Regions from separate parts of the Homo sapiens genome. Here all the other regions are linked to region 1. The links are contacts of gene promoters, found by promoter capture Hi-C in human tissues and cell types (Jung and others, 2019). All regions are on one chromosome and are shown on one strand. The core of a region is centred on a gene start or on the middle of the fragment in contact, and the rest is flanking DNA. Distances in the headings are between cores, read along the strand shown.

What was found. The method cuts DNA at HindIII sites, captures the fragments that hold promoters and counts their contacts. A contact is called where the count stands out against the background at its distance.
Region 2: a fragment that was not itself captured here is called in contact with the fragment with the promoter of KIF25 in region 1 in 2 of the 25 tissues and cell types used here (hippocampus and pancreas).
Region 3: a contact is called between a fragment that was not itself captured here and the fragment with the promoter of KIF25 in region 1, in 4 of the 25 tissues and cell types used here (H1 embryonic stem cells, liver, mesendoderm cells and 1 more).

Annotation. Positions count from the first base shown.
Region 1 is chr6:167,995,688-167,999,355 of GRCh38, reverse strand. KIF25 (kinesin family member 25) reads right to left here and starts at 1,685. Exons shown (of 13, transcript NM_030615.4): 1 at 486-1,685; 2 at 36-264. It overlaps KIF25-AS1 (KIF25 antisense RNA 1), which reads left to right and starts at 2,279. Exons shown (of 4, transcript NR_103750.1): 1 at 2,279-2,450; 2 at 2,755-3,118; 3 at 3,253-3,668. The HindIII fragment of the contact is 6,770 bases long and covers 1,130-3,668 here.
Region 2 is chr6:167,910,543-167,914,439 of GRCh38, reverse strand. It overlaps AFDN (afadin, adherens junction formation factor), which reads right to left. Exons shown (of 34, transcript NM_001386888.1): 14 at 3,278-3,339; 15 at 2,951-3,156; 16 at 1,017-1,037; 17 at 127-272. Among named protein-coding and RNA genes, the nearest start is that of HGC6.3, 67 kb to the left of the region's middle. The HindIII fragment of the contact is 6,595 bases long and covers 1-3,897 here.
Region 3 is chr6:168,120,657-168,124,402 of GRCh38, reverse strand. No RefSeq gene overlaps it. Among named protein-coding and RNA genes, the nearest start is that of FRMD1, 43 kb to the right of the region's middle. RefSeq lists an enhancer at 2,797-3,358. The HindIII fragment of the contact is 5,968 bases long and covers 1-3,746 here.

The sequences.
Region 1 (3,668 bases), core at 436-2,935:
CACAGACATACACACACCGTGCAAACACAGGTTACCTGCTCTGCAAAACTGGATCGTCGGATTCACTATCAAAAGGCAACAAAGGACGAATCCGACAGTGAACTCTGATATTTCGTTTCAGCTCCTGCAATGATCAAGAGGTCTGCGTGTCAACCCGGGCGCGAGCCTGCACTGCGGAGCATCCCCCACTGAACGTGCACCGGGCACCAGCTCCTGAGACGCGGCCGTGAGATCTGCAGCACCTGTCTCCACTTCGAAAGACCCCTGCAGGGTAGTGAACAGTTATTTTATTTATTTATTTTTTGAGCCAGAGTCTTGCTCTGTCGCCCAGGCTGGAGTGCAGTGATGCAATCTCAGCTCACTGCGACCTCCGCCTCCCAGGTTCAAGTGATTCTCCTGCCTCAGCCCCCAGAGTAGCTGGGATGACAGGTGCCCACCACCACGCCCAGCTAATTTTTGTATTTTTAGTACAGAAGGGTTTTTACCATGTTGGCCAAGCTGGTCTCGAACTCCTGACCTCAGGTAATGCGCCCGCCTCGGCCTCCCAAAGTTCTGGGATTATAGGCATGAGCCACCGTGCCCGGCCATGAACAGTTATTTTAAACTTCTGGATTCATACTTCACAAATGTGTTCACTTGGCAAAGGGGTATCCCTTGGTAATAAGTACCAAGGAAAATCCCTTTGAATGGCATCCTGGGCTCGACATTTTAGGCATTTTAGAGGGGATTTTGGAAATTCAGTATCTGTCATATTTCCTTGATTTAATGACTGGAAGGAAATTAGAAGCTTTTTATTCTCATAAACTCCACTGGTTTCCAGTGAGCAACACATCTTCTCCGTATGTGCTCAGAACTTGCCAAATCCATTCTGAAATCTTGTCTTGGATCCACAGCAAGTTTATCCACCCTGTCATGCTGAGCAGCTCCTTCTACATTTTGAAAACCAAGTGGGTGTCATAGGCCAATGATTTACAGCCTCCGTCTGGTCTCTATGAACCCACAGAAGCTGGGATCAGCCTCTGCCTGCATATTCTCCATGGGCCGCGCACTGCACGCTCCTCAGCTAGACCAGGAGACCAGGCTTGAGGTGGAACACTCAGAAACTTCCACAACCAATTCTTCCTTGTGGGACTTGACTCCATCTTAGGAAGGTTCATATTATCTTTTTCATGCTCCAGATTAAAAAAAAAAAAAGCTGCAGCGTAGTGAGACTTTCTGAAGTGCCAGGTGCTTCACTGATATCTCCCTTTGTCTTTATAGCAACCCAGAGAGGTGGTGCTATTGTGAAGATTAAATAAGAAAATACACCAAATGGTTTCAAAAGTACTTGGTACACAGGAAGCACTCAATAAATGTTCTCTTATATCAATGTTTGGAGCACTGAACTACATAAGTAGATGCTTAAAATGAGAATTATTCTTTGACACATCTAACAGCTGGAGAACCTCTCGGCATGGCCAGGGAAGAGAAGCTTCGCAGGAACACTGGCTTCGTGGGCCTCGGGCAGGTGGAATTCGGAGAAACTGGCCAAAGTGCAACCATCAAAATCAAACCTCACAGAAGCGAGGGTCACCCACTCAATCATCCACCTTGGCATCCTCGTGTTGCAAAATCAAACCCTGAGACTTTACATTAAATTTCATGGGATCTCAGGTCTCATACCTTCGACCAAGAAAGCACGAGAGCCTCTGGGTCTTGTTAATGGGCAGTGAGAGACGTGGGTGGAAGGTGCTGGTGAGGAAGGGGCAGGGGCAGGGGCAGGGGCAGTCTCCACCGGCATCTCCAGTTACAGCAAAATCCTTGCTTTTCCCGCGCAAGTCCCCATCTCTGCAGATTCCCCCGCCCCCCATCTCTGCAGATTCCCCCGCCCCCCATCTCTGCAGATTCCCCCGACCCCCCATCTCTGCAGATTCCCCCGCCCCCCATCTCTGCAGATTCCCCCGCCCCCCATCTCTGCAGATTCCCCCGCCCCCCATCTCTGCAGATTCCCCCGCCCCCATCTCTGCAGATTCCCCCGCCCCCATCTCTGCAGATTCCCCCGCCCCCACCTCTGCAGATTCCCCCGACCCCCCATCTCTGCAGATTCCCCCGCCCCCCATCTCTGCAGATTCCCCCGACCCCCCATCTCTGCAGATTCCCCCGCCCCCCATCTCTGCAGATTCCCCCGCCCCCATCTCTGCAGATTCCCCCGCCCCCATCTCTGCAGATTCCCCCGCCCCCAACTGCCCGCTACAGCTCTTTCCTTGTGCCTCACAGCAGCCGGTCCCACTTCCTGCATCGCCACCAATGTGGCCCAGGCCACCAGCCCCCGTGACACTGCAGCCATCCCCTTTGCTCCCCGTCGTGGCCTCCCGACCGAGCAGCCAGAGTGACCCCGAAAGCCTAAATCAGCCTGCGGCGCCCTCACCCGTCCTCCAGCTGCCATCGCCTCCTGGGTGAAGAGGACGCAGGTCGCAGCCCCCGCAGCTCTGCCCCTCTGCCCTCCGGCCAGGCCGCCCCGCTGTCCCCCTTGCTGTCCACCTCTCTGTCCACCCCTGCTGTCCCCCCCCGCTGTCCCCCCCGCTGTCACACCCCCGCTGTCCCCCCCCCGCTGTCCCCCCTGTTGTCCCCCCGCTGTCCCTCCCGCTGTCCCTCCGGCGAGGAGGCTTCTGCACGTTCTGCGTGGGCCTCTCCCCGGGGCCGCCCCAGGTCTCCCCTGACGCCCACACCCACCACCAGGCTGTTGTGCGGGACCTTCCTTCTCTGCCTCTCCAGCTGGTGACGCGCACTGACGTCCTGCAAGGCCCGCTCCAGGTGCGCCACCTTTGACTGGCATGCTGAAAGGACAAAGGGACGGAGGCATTTTACCGGAGAGGACATCCATGGGGCCCAGCAGGTCAAATTCCTTTCTCTAAGTATGGGAGACATTTTTAAAAATAATGGAGTCCTCCAGGGCCGGCTGCGTGCTGTGGCCTGTGCTCCTCACTGCTTTGGACCCAGGCTGCGCTGTCTCCACCACGACCAAGGACTCACAGAGCTCGCCTGGGGGACCTGGCCCCACAGTCACCCCGTCCGTCATCAGCCTCAAATGCCATCAGCCCGTGAATGCTGCTCCATCGTCTGCATGGCAGCCAAGGAGGTCTCTGCTCCTAAAGCACCTGGGAGCCCTTGGTGAGGGGGGAGTGGGGCAGGGAAGGAGATGCTGGGGCCCAGCTCTGCTGCTGTGGATTGTTACAGTGGCCTGGGCCTCTACTCCCGCCTCTGTCCTACCAGGATGGTGCCAGGTGATGTGGCGATGAGTGGGCATCGCGTGGGGGCCTTGGACGAGCGTGGACACCCCAATCCCCAGACTGGCCATTGCCGTGGAGGCAGCGTGAGTGTGACATGGAGCTCGGTGTCGTGCTGCAGAGGACGCCTCGCGGCTGTACGCGTCATGATAGCCAGGGACCCCTCCACATGTCACTTAGCCAAAGGATGCAGCCCAGCCTGGGGCTTTCTACCCCAGGCCCGAGGACCTGCAGGGACAAGGACCCCTCAGCGCAGATGCAGCTCTCATGAGGCCTGAAACCAAGCTGGACTTGCAGAACTGCGCACGCTCCCTTTCTGAAAGAAACACCCGTTACCGGGTCCAGACTGAATGTGGGCGTAAGAAAGCGGGAAGGGTCCCCCACAGCAAGAGAGAGACCCTC
Region 2 (3,897 bases), core at 992-3,491, 85 kb after region 1:
ATGCTTCTTTATATTCACCTTCAATCAAGGTAAATATAAATCTTAAAATTAGTTTGGAAAACTGAATAAGAAAACAAATGACTTAATTATTTAGAGTAGTGCCGCCTTCAAAAATGTGTTCCTTACTTAAATGCCATTTGAACCAAATGTGCTAAAACATCTTGAGCATCCAGTGTGATCCGACTAAGGTCTCGGTCTTGCTTAATGAAGTTGAGAAGTTCAGATGCATTTGCCATCCAGAAGGCAAGTGCCCCTGCAATATTCTTCTGTTTCTGTAGACAGAACACACTTCCATAAGCAACAGAGAATAAACAAAAGTAATAAAAATATAAAGGAATGCTCTTGAAAAGCTGCTGAAGATAGACCAGTACCTTCCCATTTCACCAAGGTATTTACCACAGATACCAGATATTTGCAAAATAATTTGGGTGCATACATAGCAATGGGAAGTAAATAACCACTGCAACTATTTCTTAGGATTCATGCACATAGACATATGGATTCAGTTAGCTACAATTTATAGATGGAATCAGCGGAGAAATGGAGATATCAAATAATATAACACCAAATTGTAGACCGTGCATTATCTGGTAGTCTGTGCAGTATACATACATGTATCCATGGTTACCCACAGCCACCCTGATACTTGTAGTCACTGGCTTGGACACCATGCAACTCAGTATCAAGTACTGATCTATCACATCCTCTCCCGACCACATGTGCAGGCCAGGCAACCTCAGATGAGATCCAAAGAATAGGAACCAAGGATAAATAATAAAGAGAAGAAACAGAACTTTTGTCATTTCATATCCACACTGAAGTGCATTAAGCAGAAATTATGAAATGCCGATAAAGGTTGCACAGTCAAAAAGGGTTTTAGTACTGCATGTCTCAGTTGCTGAATGAGTGTTATGAGCTGTTCAGTCCAGCTGTTGTATTACTTATTTGACATGGGAGCAGCATGAGAAACTTGGCTAAGCAACACAGCTAGGATCAGCTCCCAGCAGATGTCCTACCTGGTCAACCTGGTCTACTTCCTGGAGAAAAACAGACGAGGGGAAATCAAGCAGAACGAGAGAAAGAAACTTGTAAACAATCATGATAGTTTAAAAAAATCAAAACACTAATATGAAGGTACGACATGAAGGTACGACATTTAGTTATGTTATTCCCAAAATAACATTTTCATTTATGGTTCTGAAGCACCTTTAGAAGTATACGACCTAAAGGATTAGTTTTATGTTCTTACCACTGGCACAATAACTAACTGTATTTTTAGAGTTTATCAATAAATATGATGTTACCATAAACACACATGAACACACTGATCTCTTTAAAAGATTTACAATGGAAGGACTTGTGAACGAACATCTTTCAGTGATATGGTGTGCTTACTACTTACTTAAAAGGTACCTAATAAGGTGAAAGTCCATCCCTCTAGATTAATTAATAGGAATGGAAGAGACAGGAAAGACCAAGAAACAATCAAAATAAAAGCTGAGAAGATGAGAATTTAAAAGTGTATAAATAACTTACACCTATACTAAAGGGAGCAAATTCTTTGTTTTTTGAAAATAGAATTTAAATTATTCACTACCACAGTTCTTTTCCACTACTTTAAGATTCCCCCCACTGGATACTAACCCTAAATCTGAAGTTTAAAAGACTTGTTTGATAATGGTGATTTCACTGACTAGTTCACATCAATAAGGAAAAGGCTATCAAGGGTAGTTTTATGATAGGTGTCTCACAACTCGAAACAGGCTTAGTAAGTCCAAACATGATAGAAGACAGACAATGGCTTTGAATGACAACTGAAAAGGAAATCCATGTTTGTTTATAAAATAATGACATGAAAGTAACAAAACGGTATCCAAATAAAATGACTTTCTTTTTTACCTATTTCCTAACTTGGGTAAAAGAAGCATAACCCTATCAAACTCATGCTAATCACTCAAATATAAAAGAAACATTTCTTGAAAAATTCTGGCCTTTGAAAACAATTCTGAAGGAACTAAAAGATCTTAGTTTCCCTCAAATGATCCTGCCAGGAGAAAAGCAACCAATCTATCTATGTTATTAACATTATATAACTAGAGTTTTATTAAGTTAAATAACAACATTGACAAGTGATTCAGAAAAACTGAAAAAATCTGTACATTTACTTTTAAGAACTTTAAAGATTAAATCTTCAAATCATCTGTAGATGAAAAACTGCTATGAAAATTTTATCAACTGTAGATCGGGACAGAAAGTACGTAAAGGAGTCAAACCATTCTACCAACAAAATACCTTTATCTTCTGAAATTTTGAAAACAGGTTTATGACAGAATTTCATTTTAAGTGAGAAGTATGTTACAATGTCCATTACACCTACACATGTGCTATCAAAAAGCCCAATTACTACCAACGTCTAGGCTCATTACACAGGAGCAAGTGACTTTTGAGAACCATTTTTAAAAAGTCTAAGAAGGCGTTACCAGGGAACGGGGGAAGAGAAAAACCCCAGGAACTACTTGAGGGGTATCGCTCTGAGGTGATGGAGACGTTTTGGAACCGACAGGGGTGGTGGCTGCACAACACTGTGAATGCACCAAATGCGACTGAATTGTTCACTTCAAAATGGTTAATATTATATGAACTTCATCTCAACAAATTATTTACAGAAAAAATTCTACAAAAGCCCACAACAGTCTCAGCACTTTCTCACAACTATTACTACAAGTTAACTTCACTTATGCTGAAGTTTTACAGGGAAAACAAAATAGAAAAAAGCTTGCATTTCCTTTCAACTCTTTAAAGTTATACATTTTCCTACAATATTTACATAACTTTTATTTTAGAAAAAAATCTTGTAACCAAATGAGAAGCCTTAAAGAAGCTGAATTCACTGGCTTAGCAATTACAACCACAATCACTGGAGGAGCATGGCTGGCCGGCTGGAACGTACCTGGATGACACCCTCCATCATGCTCACCATCTTGTTGACGACTGCAATGACTTTATGTGTGCGCTCTGTAGGGCTGATGTCAGGTCTGTACTGGTTGGACAATACATACCGGCATGCCATATATAATACATATGTAGGGGACAACTTAAAGTGGACTGTAGAGCTATTAGTATAATTTATAATGGCAGACAAAAATGAATCTTCAGCTGTGGAAAGATTTCAAAAACAAAGAAAAAAGGAAAAAAGAATAAAAACGAATGTGAAAATCAGATGGAGTAAAATGGATCAAGAAATAATTCATTGACAATGAAATCTGAAATTACTCACAACTTTCCCTGAATTCAATGCTTGCAGGTAGTATCAGCTCAGGCCCAGAAGCATCCTGTGTTCTAAAAGAAGAAAGCTGACATCACTTAAAATAAGGTCACATGGCTAACAATATTACTGACAACCTGTGTAGATTTCTGCAACTACTTTTTAAATCTATATACTAATCTTTCCAACGTAAAATAATAAAATATCCCTTGTTTTCAGATGTAGCCTAATCAAATAATGCATTGGGAGTGATCTTATCACGACTCCTCTAAGAAGGTTAGTTCCTTGAAGTATATGCCGCCGCCATGACAGCAGATCTGACGTGATTCTGGATTATTAATGAACACTTCATGTCTAGTACAGGGATCGGTCTGTCTTGCATCTGCTACAGCTATGGCTCAGGTAACACTGAAAACAAAGTACTAAGTGACACAAAGAAAAACTAACCATGCCAAGCTTGAAACGGAGTTCTTATACTGAAAGGGAAAAGCTTCCTAAGACCTGGACTTTGTCTTTCTCTGCTGACACAGGGTTAGACAAGCTGACCACGGCAAGTCTCCTTCAGCCATTACTATCATCATTTTCCAATGCTTACAGTGACGCATGCCTTATAAAGAGATGTTCTACTCACT
Region 3 (3,746 bases), core at 46-2,545, 130 kb before region 1:
TTATTTGTTTATCTGCATTTTTATGCAAAGCAGCTGCACATTGCCAAACCTCTGGGTTCATTTGCATAATTGAAAACCACACCATGGAGAGCATGGGGCAAAGTGTCAATAACCAGCTCACTCTCCTGTTGTGTTTCTTCTGGAAATACAATTTTCTAGAAAAACTCCATCAGATTAGGAAAAAATGCCTGAGACAACCATCAGCGTTTACACGTAGTGCTCTGAAAATCAACAGCCTCCTTATCTTTAAAGTCAACAGGCTCAGGTAAATTGCCTCAAATGCTCAATACCTGGTGAGAATAGAATGTACATATCATCCCATATATAAATACATCTATGTATCAGTATAAGTAAGTGGGTAAAACCCACAAATATAAGTGGCTGTAGCCCATAAGCAAAAGCTCTCTGGAGCCCCTGATACATTTGAAGAGGACAAAGGGATCCTGAGATCAAAAAGTTGGAGGCCTGCTAGAATAGTGGATCTCTAAGTGTGATCCAAACCCAGCAGATCAGCCTCACCTGGAAGCTCGTCAGAAAGGCAAATTCCCAGGCCCCGTCCAGCCCTCTGACCTCCCGAATCAGCCACTCTGGGGTGGGCCTAGTCATCTGCACTTTAACAGGCCCAGCAGGTGACCCTCTTGAAGGCTGAAGTTGGAGAAACACCATCCAGAGAAGCACCTCCCACACTGAACCTGATAGGAGCCCCAGGAGCGGGGGCTTGTTAGGATGATCCTGACTGGGTCTGGGGTGGACCTGAGAGTCTGCATTTCTAAGCAGCTCCCAGGGAAGCTGAGGTTGCCAGTCCTGAGACCACACTTTCAGTGGCAAAACTCATCAGTGATAAAAATCCTCCCAATTTGAAGGCGTGAAAAGACAGTTTGTAACACCTAAGAGGACTCACAAGCCCCAGTCTATAATCCCCAGATGGGTTTAATCCCTTGAGTGAATCAGGCTAAGATGAAAGCTTGGGTGAGGTTAATTCACTCCCCCTAAGGGGTAAATGAACTTAGTGATCGCTCCCCCATGCTGCTGTGCATTGGGACTGAGTGGATGGGTGACCCTGAGCCAGCAGGAGTCTGGTCTTCATTTCATTCCCTGAGTGCACCATGATGTCAGAGGGGTGAGAACACCGGGGTGCTGTCCGCTGTGATATGAGTCCATTCTCACACTGCTATGAAGAACTACCTGAGACTGGGTAATCTATAAAGAAAAGAGGTTTAATTGACTCACTGTTCTATAGGCTGTACAGGAGGCATGGCTGCGGAGGCCTCAGGAAACTTACAATCATGGTGGAAGGTGAAGGGGAAGCAGGCACATCTTCACATGGCAGCAGGGAAGAGGGCAAAGGGGTGCTATCCCCTTTCAAACAACCAGATCTCATGAGAACTCACTATCGCAAGAAGAGCATGGGGGAAACTGCCCCCATGAACCAATCACCTCCCACCAGGTCTCTCCCACAACACATGGGGATTACAATTCAGCATGAGATTTGGGTGGGGACACAGAGCCAAACAATGTCAGCTGTTGAAGAACTGGGGGCCGTCCCAAACACGGCCATGGAAGCTGGTGTGTCTCTAGGGCTCCCAGCTGGCAATGCAATCAGTGATCAGATCAGCCATCACCCTCGGACTGAGAAAGGGTAAGAGTCACCCCCAAGCACAGAAAAGGCCACAGAGTCAGGACTCAGCCATAAGCAGCGGCCAAGGGGGATCCTGGCTGCTGTGTCAAATGCGTCTCTGGACAAAGAGGGACAGCACAGGGTGCAGCATTAAGTGTTCAAATCATCCAACCAGCTCCCGCCCATCAAGAACGTTTCAAATCAGAATGACCTCAGAGAAGGGGACAGAGGTGAGCTCGTGGAGGGCACACCACGACAGTGGTCATCCTGGGTACGGAGTGTGCCAGTGAGTGGCCACGAGAGGTTAGAACCAGAACCTAGGCCCCAGGACCCTGACTGCAGCTTAATGCCACTTCCATAGTGTGACATGGTGTTTCCACGCGAGGCTTAGAAAATCCTATAAGCGGAATATGGAGTCTAAGCACAAAGTCTCCCAGACAAGGAGGTGTGGGAGATTCTTGTGATTCTCTCCCAGCCTCAACCTCTCTCCAGCCTGGCCCAACCCTCTTGACGTCCATGAAGCCATGGGTGGCCTTCAAAGCGACAGCACCAACTTGAACCGAAGCCCTCCTGAGACAGGTGGCAGTGCCGCCGCGGGACCCAGACCCAGCTGGCAACGTAAACCCTGTGTGAATCCCTGCTGGGAGGTTCGGCGATGCTTGACGCAAATGCTTCTCCTCTAAGAGATGGTTTAATTTCCAAAGACTGGGTTAAAATCATGGCCTCAGTTGGTCGCTAATGAAACTGAGACCTGTTGGAATCCTCTGCAGCACACTCGGCTTTGCATATGCATTGATCCCTTTCCTTGAGGCAGTTAACAGAGAATCTCTCTCTCTTCTCCCGTCTCCCCACTCCTTCTCCCTCTCTCCCCCTCTCCCTCCCCCTACCTCTTTCTCTCCTTCCCTCCTGCCCCTCTCCCTTTTCTACCTACCCTGCCCCTTCCTCTCTCCAACCCTTCCTGTCTATTAATCCAGATGGGGTAGGCTTATGAGGCCATTAAAAATGACCACAAATTCTCAGGGGCTTGAATCATTACAAGCTTATTTCTTGTTCAACCAAAATCTACTGTGGGGACAAGTGAAATTGGAGAAACTCATTTTTGTAGCAACCTTGGCCCCAGGTGGTTTCATCTTTCGGCTGCAGAATCTCACCGTCAGGCTTCTCCATCTAGGAAGGAAGGGGGTGCGGGTGCGGGACAGTTCTGTTCCCCTCATGGTGAACTGCATGGCCTGTCCGCTGTCAGGGGCTAAGAAGCTTCAGTTTCCAACGGATGGGAAACCACCCTGATGCAGCGGCAAGCCCAGGCTCACCACAGGCCAGCCGCCCCAAAGGTCACCACAGAAGGGTGCCCACAGATGAAGACACCCATGGTGAGACAGGCAGGAGGTGGGGCTGGTCTCTCTCTGCAGGCTCCAGGACAGAGACACCCACCTGCAGGGAGGGCTTTGTGGGAGAGCTGTGATTTTATTTGCATTTCTTAGGCAGAACACAAGTGGGCCAGAATGAACGGTGTCCACAGTTGGTGCTGAACGGGTCACAGGTTATCTGGCGACCTGAGGCCTGGTGCAGAATCTGCCCGGCCTCCCTTCACAGCACACAGATGCTCCTCTCCTTCCTGGCTGGCTTCCATTCTTACATCTCTCTCTCCTCTTACTCATTTCTTTCAGTTTCCGTGGCAGAATCGAATCATCCCAGTACTTTGGAAATACAAAGGCGGCGTCTGTCACCGGAGCTGAGGGCAGGGGCACTCAGAGGCACCCCAGGGCTCCCCTGGCCACCCACGGCCTCTGGGCTGGAGGGGAACCCAGCACCAGCACCTCAGGCAGGGCCACAGTGTCATGGCCACCCACGGCCTCTGGGGCTGGAGAGGAACTCAGCACCACCACCTCAGGCAGAGCTGCTGTGTTGTGTGCTGAGTCCCACCACCCCATTGCCCTCCCTGTCACAGTCAGCTCCAGACAGGATCTGAACAGCAGCGGGGAGGTGGGGAGGACCTGCTTGATCTGCTCCAAACCCCTCATTTGACTGATGAACAGGCAGGGCCACAGAGGCTAAGTGACGTGACCAGCTTCAGAGAGTGAGCCCCCAAGAGGGCTGGTTCTAGCACACATTGCTGGGCCCACACCCA